Linked DNA regions of Homo sapiens: regions 1 and 2 are each linked to region 3. The links are contacts of gene promoters, found by promoter capture Hi-C in blood cells and fetal thymus (Javierre and others, 2016). All regions are on one chromosome and are shown on one strand. Each heading gives the region's core, a stretch centred on a gene start or on the middle of the fragment in contact. The rest is flanking DNA. Distances are from core to core; before and after follow the strand shown.

Region 1 (4,426 bases), core at 1,255-3,754, 870 kb before region 3:
CTTCTTGCTGTACTTCAATTATAGCATTGGATGTATGTTGAACATGTCAATTACAGAATACAAACCAAAGGCTTTTTTTGTTTTTATTTCTTTTCAACATCTCACTGGCCTGGCAAGAGTCAATGAGTCACACCATCGATCTCCACATTTGCCCTTTGCTCTACAAGTGTTGTACTCACCATGAGGAAATACCCAATAAGCAGAACAGGCATTAAGAGGATAATTAGTAGATAATCAATGAAGGTAAATTTTTTCTTCACAGCATAATGCAAGCAGGTTCTCTCTTTCTAAAAATTAAGAAAAGGATTCTTTACTAATAAAGCATTTCAATTCAAAATTTATTCAGATGGCCATCTCAAAAAGTTTAGTTTGTGCTTTTTGTTTTTCCGGTACCCATGGCATCTTTTCCTGTGGGATACATCTGATTACTGAATGCGGCTTTCCATGGAGCAGAACAGAGAACTCGGTCCAGTGTAAAGGAAAAGCTAGGGAAGGGCTCCTGGGAGTCAACAAAGGTGAAATGTACACAGCAGAGCTCATCAGAAGACAGATTCTTATACCCACTTAGTTTTTGGAAAAAAAGATACACTGAGATATAAACTTAGGACTGAATTTACTATGAAAATTGATAGTTATCCCTTAATCATCTACCATGTGTACGATTATCCATTTTGTGGTTTGTTCATAGGAAAACTCTTAACCACATGGCTGTTTTTCATGTTCCTTCATGTGCATAGTCTAGAAGAATGCATATAACTCAATTTTATTCTTCAAATATGTGAATACTTATCAGGTAATAGATGTCAGCTTCCAAGGGTTGTGGGAGATGTGAACTCTTAGGGCCTCATAATCAAAGATGGACAGAAATATGCACAAATAAATATAAGGCAAAACAGAAGGTGGTAATTGGAATACCAATCAAATCAGTAAGAGGAGAGGGAGCCCAAGAGAAAGAAAGGAGGTTAGTTTCCACTTATGCAAGGCACTGTACCTAAATAAGAACACTTTTTGTTTTTCTAATATGAAGGCATTTATATTTTCTGTAAAAAAATTTTAGAAACTAGAGAGGAACATAACGATAGAATTTTAAATTGCCCATTATTATATTAAATGGTCCAGAGTTAACTGTTGACATTTTGTTGTATTTTCTTCCAGTCTTCTTAAATGCATAAATGTGGAATTTTGAAATGTAGAATGATATTGCATATGCAATATCATATCTTGCTTTTTTCAGTTCAGAAACGTATATTTAGAATATGTACATTTTTCCATGCAATTCAATATTTTTAAACATATGATTGTAATGGCTGCATGGCTTAGTATTGAGTGGAACTACTCTGATGTATTTAGCTAAGCCCTGCCTTTTGAACATTTCATGGTTTTTGAGGGTTTTGTTTTTGTTTTTGTTTTTCTGTGAGACAGGATCTTGCTTTGCCACCTAGGCGGGAGTGCAGTGGCACAATCCTAGCTCACTGCAGCCTTGACTTCCTGGTCTCAAGCGATCCTTCAACTTCAGCCTCCAAAGTAGCTGGGACTACAAACATGTGCCACCACACCTGGATAATTTTTTACTTATTATTATTTTGTGTAGAGATGCGGGGGTCTTGCTATGTTGCCTAGGCAGGTCTTGAACTCCTGGTCTCAAACTATCCTTCCACCTTGGCCTCCCAAAATGCTGGGATTCCAGACATGAGCCACTGCACATGGCCCGTTTCAAGTTTTAAACTTTTCATTTTTATAAATAATATTGCCTGAACCTGCTCATTCATAAATTTTTGTCAACATTTCCAAATTTGTCCTTTGCCTACATTTCTAAAAATAGAATTCCTGGCATAAAAAGTATTAATGCTTTTCATATTGCGCTATCAAATTGTGTTCTAATAAGACAATAATAACTTAAACTTTCTGATCAACATTTGTTTTCTTTTTTAATCTTGGTCAGTTTGACAGACAAAAACAAGGATCTTTATGTTTTAATTTAATTTGCTATCAATAGAATCCATAGGCTTGTGCTTCTGAATCTCCAGCAGAGCTTTTTGTTTGTTTGTTTGTTTTTAAGGTGTTTGTTTGTTTAGTGTTTCTGGAAATAATTTATAAACAGATTTCAGACATGAGAAATCACAGGTTCAAATTATTAATGTACAAATATTAATATTTGGAGAAAATAAAAATATTAAATGCTAACATTAGAAACATTTGAAAGTGGAAAATGCAAACCAAAAACTTCTACTGATAAAATCTATTAATCTAATGTATCCACTAAAGTCTTTTTCATGGTTTTTATGATACCAGAAAATCCCAGCAGGCTGGCTGAGGCCCTCCTCTTCTGCAAAGCGGAGATAAAAGTGTCTCCTCAGCCTTGCCCATGGGCTAACGTCTCCTCCCTCAGTTTCCTAACGAGCGCACCTCTTAAAAGAGCGCAGGAACCCACAGACATCTGTCTTCTGGCACTACCACTCACTGCAACTCCACATATCTGGTTTCACAGCAGTGATCTACAGAGATCCTATTATAGTCCACGATGTTGCATATCTGTTCCATTCAGCACAGGCATGACTTGCTTTTAATCGCAACCAAACCAAAAATAGTAAGCATAAATAAAAAAGTCCAGTAATGATCAATTTTCTGATAATACATTGTTACTCCTGATGAGCTAGTCTCCAAATGACTTAGAAGGGGCAAGGGGGGATTTCCAGTGTTTTCTCGCCTTGAATGCATATAAGTGGGTACAGGACAGTCATAATGATTGCAAAAAAATGGCTTAATATTTATTCAGTGTAATTTAAATATTGCCTTCACTACGATGCAAATGCTAGATGTTCAGAAAGGGCTCCACAAGGATTTTCACAGCAATACACACATATTCTTCTCTTTCTTGGTCCTGAAGGCTCCAAAGTAGCTAATATTGCATCTTTAAATATATTCTTTACACCTTTTTGTGTGACTTCAAGTAACCTCTGGCTCATGAGCTTATTTGTCCTTGGTAAATTTCTCAATAGTACTCTTTCATTCTACAAGAACACTATAGGATCCTCTGGAGATCAGGACATTAATATAGCAGGTAAAAATCTAACTAATGAAACAGCATTTCTTTTCCAAGAAATCTTTGCCATTGCTTCTGTGTTAGTAATGAGAAAGAGGGGAGAGGAAGAAAGAGGAGGATGAAGAGAGGAAGAAGGAAAAGAAAGAAGCTCTATCCAGCCAAATAAGTGAACCAGAGGTAAAAAGACATAATTTATCACAAATTATGCCTGCTGATTGAACTATGTTTTATTTTGCTGTTTAGCCTAATAAAATGTCCTTGGTATGTGTCAGTCTTTCTAAAGTAGGCTAAGATAATTGTTCGTATTAGGAGCTGCAAGCAATTTAAAAAATGACATGCACCACTTCTAGTGATTCAAAGAGAAAAGAATTATCATGAACAATTACACTCTCCATTCATGTCATGACCTCACCTGGTTTTTGAGGTTGACATTAGCATTTCTTCTTAAAAGGAAGGAAACGATTCTCACATGCCCTCGCCTGCAAGCACAGATCAGGGGCGTGTCTCCATTAAAGCCATCTTGAACGTTGGCATAGCTGCTGTCTTCTTTCACCCACCGCCACACTTGTCCAAAGTCATTCTGATAGGCTGCTTGGCAGATGGGCTGGGTCGGGAAAAACAAAAGCAGGTTTTGAAATACTGGCATAATTAAACCACAAAAACGAAAAAAAAGTCATAACCCAATACATTAAAATTTAAATGTTTTAAAATTGTAATATATTGCTTTGCAGGTGAGATTTTTTGGTCTCAGTTATGCCTAGCTTTAAGTCTAGATCAAGAATTAGCCCATGAGGAACCTCCTACATTTTCCTAAGTTTTCTTGGCACACACTTATGTCCATCAAATGGATGAATAAATAAATGAAATACTACAAATTCAACTCAGTAAGGAAACTATGTATAGTGCTTACAGGTAGGTGGGCCTGTCGGAAAAGCATTCATTTTCTTTACTAAAGATAAAATACCTTTATCTTTATCTTTACTAAAGACAAAATACCTTTATCTTTATCTTTACTAAAGACAAAATACCTTTATCTTTATCTTTACTAAAGATAAAATATCTTTATCTTTAGTAAAGACAAAATGTCTTTATCTTTATCTTTACTAAAGATAAAATGTCTTTATCTTTATCTTTACTAAAGATAAAATAGAAAACAAGCATATGGGGAGGAGTTTAGGGCAGTACTAGTGATGAAATAAGACCTACATAGCACCCTGTATTCAAGGAGCTCAACAGAGCAGAAAAGACAGTTTTTTAGGCAAATAATATACAAATTATATGGTTAACTACACTTGATTAGATGCTGTTTATAAAAAGCATTATACAGAGCTTCACAAGGCACCATGGGAGTTTAATAGCAAGACTTCAGGTAGCATGATCTTG
Region 2 (4,092 bases), core at 1,352-3,851, 700 kb before region 3:
TTATTTTCCAAAGATGAGTTTTATTTATATTTATCACGCTTATTTGATGTGGTTATGGATAAATTTAATTTACAAGTGACATGCACCTCTGAAATGAGAAGACTGGTCTATTTGGCTCCATTTTTTTCTAAGCAAAAATGACTCATTTGTGAATATGAAAGCTTATCATGTCAAAACTGATTAGGATCTACCATAACAATAGTGGAACTCTGAAAGCAAGAGACTTCTCCTCTTAAGGGATATGTCTCAGCACTTCCCTTCAATCAGAAGGTCTCTAAGAAAGCTGTCCTGGCACTGAAGCCTGCAAAATATATTTGCATTTTGCAGCTGAATAACTAGACGAATAAGAAAAGCAACAGGCAGAAACCAACAGCTTTTTTTTTTAAATCAATACTTTGAAGGGCAAACTAATTTCAGATCACAAATCCTTCAAACACTGGTAAATTAGAAGCTAAGCAAAATGCAATTGTGCAAACATTTCTTCAACTTTGAGTAGAGTTGAAAAAAGGAAAATAGCACATGGGTTCATGTGATAGATTAATAGAACAAAAAAGGACTGTAGTATGTTTCATGGTTGTCCTCCCAGGCTTCCAGCACTCAAGCTGTAAAACAGGATGGGTCCTGTTTGTGAAAAGATTCTACCAGTCTCCCTGTGCTTCATGTCCAGATTTTAATAACCGTTATGGAAAAATCTCCCCTATAACCCAACCCATTTATACTTAAACCCATTTACACTTAAATCTTCTCCAACACGAATAAAGAATGGCGTCCTGGCTTTATTATAACCTGCTAAACACAATCAATTTGCTCTATGAATTGAAATCTTTGTTCATAATTTTAAAACCTAAAATGTAAATTAAAATGAACAAAATATGCTTTGCACATCAAACTGTCAAGGATTTTTGTCTATTGCTTTTTCGGTTTTGCTTTGTTTTATTTTAATTTAAGAAGTGAATGTAAATTGTTACAAACTTTTAAGAAATACATTTGGATATATGAGTCAAAAATTTGAAAAAAAATTTTTTTTAACTTTTTTTTCTTATTATTATACTTTAAGTTTTAGGGTACACATGCACAATCTGCAGGTTAGTTACATATGTATACATGTGCCATGCTGGTGCACTGCACCCACTAACTCGTCATCTAGCATTAGGTATATCTCCCAATGCTATCCCTCCCCCCTCCCCCCAACCCACTGTTTATACTTGCTAAGATAGCAATTAATTTATACGAAAATACCCTGAGAAAATAATCAAAAATAAAGGAAAATATTGTACACATGATATTTCATTATCAATATGATGTAGGATTCCTTAGGTAAATTCTGGAATATTTAAAGACTGAAATAGTATGTATCAAAGTCATGTTTTCTGATATATTTCTAATATAATCCTCAATTATATAAACCTTCTTAAGTAATTTCCAACTGATCTGGCTGGATTAACTGATTCTCCCTGATCCGTCTATAAAATATCCTGGATGGCATCCAACCATGTTAAATACTCTTCCCACTTCAATTCCCTCTTGTTGAATTTTAGGCTTATCAATATCTAAGTTGCTTCCAAATCTGTTTATGCTCATTAGTGTTGTGATATTCATATGTAATTTGATTGAATATTGCATAAATTAATGAAATACAAATACAGAGAAAAGACAGATTTTATTTCTAAGAAAACTAGGTTGAGTGCTTTGGAGAATTCAATAAAGATGAGCTGCTAAAATGTTGTTGATGAATTTTGTGAGGGAAAAATAAAAGTTAAGTAGTAGGAAAAATCACAAAAATCTCTAAAGCCATTCATAGAGATTATTGGTATGTTTATGTTTTCCTTTCATCAAAAACGAAGGGAGGGAGGGAGGGAGGGAGGGAGGAGAAAAAAAGAAAGAAATGAAAAAGGAAGAGAAAAATAGACAAACAGGAAATTATAGGTGATGCATTATGGATGTGACTTAAGAAAGAACCTGGGATTATAATAACTTCTATATCACAAAATTGTCAAATGATTATATAGTTATATTTTATAAATTAAAACAAAATATTTACAGTATTTTTAAGTGATTTCCTATGTAAATTGACATTTTTGATTAAATGATCAAAGAAGTCCTCCCCACATCATCATATTCAATAAGAAGGATTCTATGGTATACTGCACACATATTTCATATATACACATTGTACATATATATATATACACACCTGTTATATATATGCTCATGCATATACATGTATGTATGTATTATATGCATAGGAATGCAACAAAATAACGGCAATATCTCCAGATTGTTGATATATAGTTTTTTGTTTGTTTGTTTGTCTGTTTTTTTGAGATGGAGTCTCACTCTGTAGTCCAGGCTGAAGTGCAGTGGCATGATCTCAGCTCACTGCAACCTCTGCCTTCTGGGTTCAAGCAATTCTGCAGCCTCAGCCTCCCAAGTAGCTGGGACTACAGGAGCACACCACAACACCGGGATAATTTTTTGTGTTTTTAATAGAGGCGGGGTTTCACCATGTTGGTCAGTCTGGTCTCAAACTCCTGACCTCAGGTGATCTGCCTGCCTTGGCCTCCCAATCTGCTGGGATTACAGACATGACCCACTGTGCCCGGCCTGATACATAAGTTCTTATTATACTTTCCTGCCTTTTCCAACATTTCTATAATAAGCATATGTACCATTATACTAAAAAAAGTATTTTAAAATCTGATTTTCAATAAAACAACTACTTATTTTCTTATTTTAATAAATTTTGTTTTCATACTTTGGAGGAACGAAAGAACCTGTGGTTTACTGTATCTCCATTATACCAAGGAAGTTGTGCTAGGCACATTCTGTAAGATAATTCATTAAAGAGACCAATTCATTCAGAGACCAGTATAATACCACTAGCAAAAAATAAAATTATACTTGGACTTGGGTTCTGTTTTCTTTAAATATTGCTACAATGTTATATAGCCCTATGCACTATTTTTGAATTTTGTTCTGGGAATCTCCAGTTTGTTTTTTACTATTGACAGACTATTATCTTTACTTACTAAAATAGCATATATATTTACATGTCATAATTTGCTCATGTAGTAAATATTTTGTTTTATCAAAAAGAATATATGAAGTTATTAAGGAATTCATGTTCCTAGGAAACACAGCAGAAATTAATTTTGCTGTATAGGTGAGCAGAGCAGATTAAACTGCTTATATTTTTAAAACTAGTTATACCATTAACAATTAGAGTCACTAGTAATGTTTTTCTCACACTTCCCTTGATATTTTCTGTCACTTTCTTCTTAATTCTCTATTCCCTTACCTTCATCTAGCTTTCCCCATAGCATTTTTTTAGCACTTGATATCAATATATTTATTTGTGTATTGTCTGCCTGCATCCCAAGAAGGTGAAGTCTTTGGTGATGAAGGGTTTATCTTATTTCCTGCATAATATCAAACTTCTAAAAAGTTCCTAGGACTCAATAGGCATTTAATAAACACCTATCAGATAAATGAATTTTTTAAGAGAACACATTACATAATGCTTTCTAATAGCAATACAGTGACAAACTTTATTTTTAAGTAAATTAATGCAAATATGTATATTATTTAAAATTGTTTGTTTTTAAGATAACAAGCCTGATAGATAATAAATTTTGGCATAAATATGTTAATGCTTATCAAAACTCATCAGTACATATCCTGTCTTTTGATGAAAAAGTAATAGAAAGGGGAGAACAAAGAGAACTCTCATGCTCACTAGGCAGGCCGAGTGCAGCTCTGACAGCAATGCAAGAGAAATATTACTATCTCCATCATATGCAGGATGAAATTTAGGCTTGGAGAAAACAACACTTCGTTAAAGATTTTATAGCTGCTCAAGATTTGACCAAGGCTTTTAAAACTTCAAATGTTCTTTTCCTTATTACACTGTTTCTTATCAGGATTTGTGGACTTTGGAAAGTAAAATGAAAAGTCAGAGCAATGTGAGTTAGTTTGATAATCTCAGTGGCCAGTAACAGCTATCCCCACTCTGAATATATACCAACCAACCTCTCCCCTTTCTCCAAGGAAGTTAGTTCTTGGCAAAGGCATTTCATGCAGTGTACTTTGTCA
Region 3 (3,972 bases), core at 255-2,754:
AAGGTACTATTTTAGACGTAACCTAAATGATGAAGGGAAGTGCCACGTGTTGAATGGAGAAGAGAGAATTTAGGTACAGGGAACAACCCATGCAAAGGTTCATACATGCTGGAAAGAAGTTGGTGTTTGAGGTATCCAGAGCAGATCAACTTACTGTACAGTTAGTGGGGAGTGAGGTCGGCTGACACTTGATTGTGCAGGACCTGGGAGGCCATGGTAAAGATCAGAATTCTATTCCTTTTCCCCCCTCCTCTTTTTATTTTATAAAATCTGTTATTTTAGAAAGTTGCAAGACTGGTACGATGTACACCATTATACCCTTCAACTAGATTCACCAATTACTAATATTTTGCCACATTTGCTTTCTCTATTTTTTTGCCATATCTTTTGAAGGTAAGCCGCAAACACTGTGACACTTTGCTGCTAATTACTTTAGCAAGCGCCTTCCAAAAACAAAGGCATTCTTCCACTTAATCACAAATTAATTCTCACATGCAATCAATTTAAAACTGATTCAATATCATCTAATATGTAGTTCATATTTAAATTTCCCCAGTTGTCCACAAATGTCTTTCGAAGTTTTTTTTTTTTTTTAAAAACTATGAACCAGCCAAGATTCACAAATTTCATTTGGTTTCTTTTGACTCTCGACTAAAGTAATTTTCCACTTCGTTTTTTTCTTTTTCCTGTCATGACACTGACATTTTTGAAGAGCCTAGGCCTGTTGTCTTGTAGAATATTCTACATTGTTTTTTTCTGATTGTTTCCTCATGATTAATGTCAAACATTTCTAGCACAAATACTATCGGGTGATATTAGCGATGCTAAGTATCTTCACTTGGTTAAGGTATGTCTAATAAATCTCTTCAGTGTAAAATTCTATTTTCCCTTTATAATAAGAAATGATCTGTAGGGTGATTCTTTGAGATACTAACATCCTCTTCCCTACAACCTTTCAGTTAATTGTTTGTTTTAGCATCTTGCATTCATTAGTTTTAGCATTCATAAGCTTACCTATATCAATTTTTAGACTGGCAGTTGCACAATGGGGATGCAGCGAGGGAAGTGACCCTCCGGATCCCGGGATGCCGAGCCTTTTTCTGCCCCGTAGGGACAGGACTGGGAAGTGGCTAGCCCGCCATTCCTCGGCCCGTCCTTAGGGGAGTCGCAGGACTAAGTGCAGTGGCAGTGGCCTCACCTCGGGCCTTCGCCACATCTTTATTGCCTCAAGGACAGAATTGGAGATCGGTGTCCCAGTCAACAGCGTGGTACTTATGACAGCCGCGAGAAAGCGCACTACTAAAGCCCGGCTAGCAGAGCTGGGAGGCAAACCAGACCGTCAGCACCAGGGCGGCCCACGCCTGCTTCCGCCCATTGGCTGCCCGCGTTTCAAGACCCGCCCCCATATTGGAGAGCTTCTTCCGGTAGCCACTGGAAAGCCCGCAGCGCGAGCCGGCTACGCTCCCTGGCGGAGCTCTGGACGCCCCACCTACTCCCAGCGTTCAGTGCGGTGCCCTGGCCGCCATTGTTTGAATTTGAAAACGGTAACATCGCAGTGCTGCTCGCGGGTCTGGCTAGTCAGGCGAAGTTTGCAGGTGAGGAGGTGACCCGCGGGAATGTGTGGGGAAGGAGGTGGGTGACTGCGCATGTATGGGGCCTAAGGTGGGGAAACGGCTTTGGCAATGTGGACATGTTCCGACAGGGCTCATACCCCAGTGGAGGTTACTGTCAGGAACTGGGTTGCGGAGCGATGCGAACACGGGGTACGCAGCGAGGAATGAGTCATACTAATTCGGTTACGGTTTAAATCTCGCCTCCACTGCTAATTAGCTGAGTGACGCAAGACAATTCATTTAATCTCTCTCTGTACCTTAGTTTTCTTATCAGTTAAAAGGCTGCAATGAAGTGTCTATTTCTTTCGGCTTTTGTGAAGATTAAATGGTAATGTGTAAAGTTATTAGTGCTGGCACACAGTAGGTACTAAATGTTTGCAGTTATTAATATTATTATTGTTGTTGCTTCTGTTGTTGTTGAGGAACAGGCCTGTTTTGCCACACCTAGTTTTCTGAAGCTCTGAGGTGAGCAGTTTGCTCGGCTGGTAGGTAACACGGCCTTTTTGCGGGGGGAGCCCTGTGGTAGCCTCTGTGCACTTATTTCCAGACTACTCCTACTGGTCCTTGGGGCTTGCCCTTCTAGGGTTTTGCAGTGCCAGGCTGAAGAGTTTGTGGCACAGTGACTGCTGTCATTCCCCAGTTTAGAAGGCTTTCTCCATCTCGATTCGCTCGCTGGTTCAGTGATGCATGTCTGGCACAGTTCTCTTATATTTCTTGCTAAACTACTAGTTTACAGAAGTTCACGCCTTATGGGTTAGGTAGTGTAACAGTGTATTTATCTTACATGTCCAAGACTCCAGATTTTAAATTGTAAAAATAACATAAAATACTCATCGATTAGTTGTGAAGACTTTTTTTGAGGCTTTGTGTTGTAGACCACATTCAGAAACCTCATTCAGCAACAGATTCTGCTATTTTTCACCAAAGTCTCCAATTGTGGATTCTTATTGGAGAGAGGGTAAATATGCAGTTTTCCAGTCAGAGCAGCCTTTTGAAATGAAAAATGAGGTCTTGGAGCCTGCTGTCACGAAAGATAATATTACAGACTAGGACCGACTTTTTTTTTTTTTTTTGGAATAGTATTTTCTTTATAACCATTATTTTAAGTCATTAGGTAGTCTTTATCCCTGCATAAGTCGCTGAATTTGTTATAGGGGATACAGAGTGGTATAAGGCAAGGTTCTTGCCATCAAGAAGTTTCCAGTTTAGTTGGGAAGGCCACGTATAAGTAGAAGTCATCTAAAATCGCAAGAAGTTACAGTAAGTCTGAACACTTTTAGAAATGCTAGGAAGTAGTTTGTTCATTGAAAAATGAGCATATGAACAAATACTTTATTATAACTGCTTTTAGTACATAGGAATATTCTTTTTAATTCAGCAATTTAAAAGATTTATCAACACTTTTCTTTAAACCAAAAATTATTATTTGAAGCCACAGGTGTTTTTTAGTTTTCTGGGCATTTCCATGAACTCTGTGTTATGAAATGTCAGGCCGGTACTTTAACGTTTTGCAGATGCTCCCCCCTCTGCACCCCCTTACCCATGATCTAGATCAGTGCTTTCCTTAGTCTTTTTGCAATTTAGGGGAAAAAAGTCAACTATGTTCTTGTGATACGTTTAGGAATTTCAGCCTGATCAAGGAAAAAGATTGACAACAAGATGGCAGGAATAAACAAGGATTTTGACAGGATTGTAGGCAAAGGAAATCCGTCTCAGTTTGGGACCTTTTCTAGACCAGGGTGAGGGGCCACCATCTAGAGGGGAAAGAGGGCAAGGGGAATGGGGAGTCGGGGAGGAAAGAATCATAGAGGGGCTTACATGCCTAAATGATGTTGCACAGTGGAGAGTCTCCGGATCATAGAAACTCTCAAGGGCAGCAGTGGCTTGGGGGTCTTGATAATCCCGGGTTTTATGTGTCTGGCAAATGTTGGGTGCAGTTTCATGGGGCATTCAAACCTGGCAGGCTCTAAATGGCTAAAAATATGCTTATTTTGGGCCATTTTGAAAGTAAATGGATGCTTCAGAATTTGACTTTGGCGCCCCAGCAGGCTTTTCCCTTTTTTTTTTTTTTTTTTGACGCAGTCTTGCTCTGTGTTCAGGCTGGAGCGCAGTGGCGCAGTCTCGGCTCACTGCAGCCTCTGCCTCCTGGGTTCAAGCGATTCTCCTACCTCAGCCTCCTTAGTAGCTGGGACTACAGGCGCATGCCACCACACCCGGCTAATTTTTGTATTTTTAGTAGAGTCGGGGTTTCACCATGTTGGCCAGGAGGGTCTCGATCTCCTGACCTCGTGATCCACCCACCTCGGCCTCCCAAAGTGCTGGGATTACAGGTGTGAGCCACTGCGCCCGGCCGTAGGCT

Evidence for each region. Contacts are between HindIII fragments. The CHiCAGO score rates a contact against its expected background, and 5 or more counts as called.
Region 1: a fragment that was not itself captured here is called in contact with the fragment with the promoter of KIF20B in region 3 in 1 of 17 cell types (neutrophils); the score reaches 5.8 in neutrophils.
Region 2: a contact is called between a fragment that was not itself captured here and the fragment with the promoter of KIF20B in region 3, in 1 of 17 cell types (neutrophils). The highest score is 7.0, in neutrophils.

The regions. Positions count from the first base shown.
Region 1 is chr10:88,828,380-88,832,805 of GRCh38, forward strand. ANKRD22 (ankyrin repeat domain 22) reads right to left here. Exons shown (of 6, transcript NM_144590.3): 2 at 3,456-3,647; 3 at 180-287. Among named protein-coding and RNA genes, the nearest start is that of ANKRD22, 21 kb to the right of the region's middle. The HindIII fragment of the contact is 5,846 bases long and covers 1-4,426 here.
Region 2 is chr10:89,003,334-89,007,425 of GRCh38, forward strand. The region is part of intron 2 of FAS (Fas cell surface death receptor); the gene reads left to right. Among named protein-coding and RNA genes, the nearest start is that of FAS-AS1, 12 kb to the left of the region's middle. The HindIII fragment of the contact is 4,885 bases long and covers 160-4,092 here.
Region 3 is chr10:89,700,086-89,704,057 of GRCh38, forward strand. KIF20B (kinesin family member 20B) reads left to right here and starts at 1,505. Exons shown (of 33, transcript NM_001284259.2): 1 at 1,505-1,595. RefSeq lists a silencer at 1,027-1,106 and enhancers at 1,151-1,666, 1,667-2,183. The HindIII fragment of the contact is 4,302 bases long and covers 1,008-3,972 here.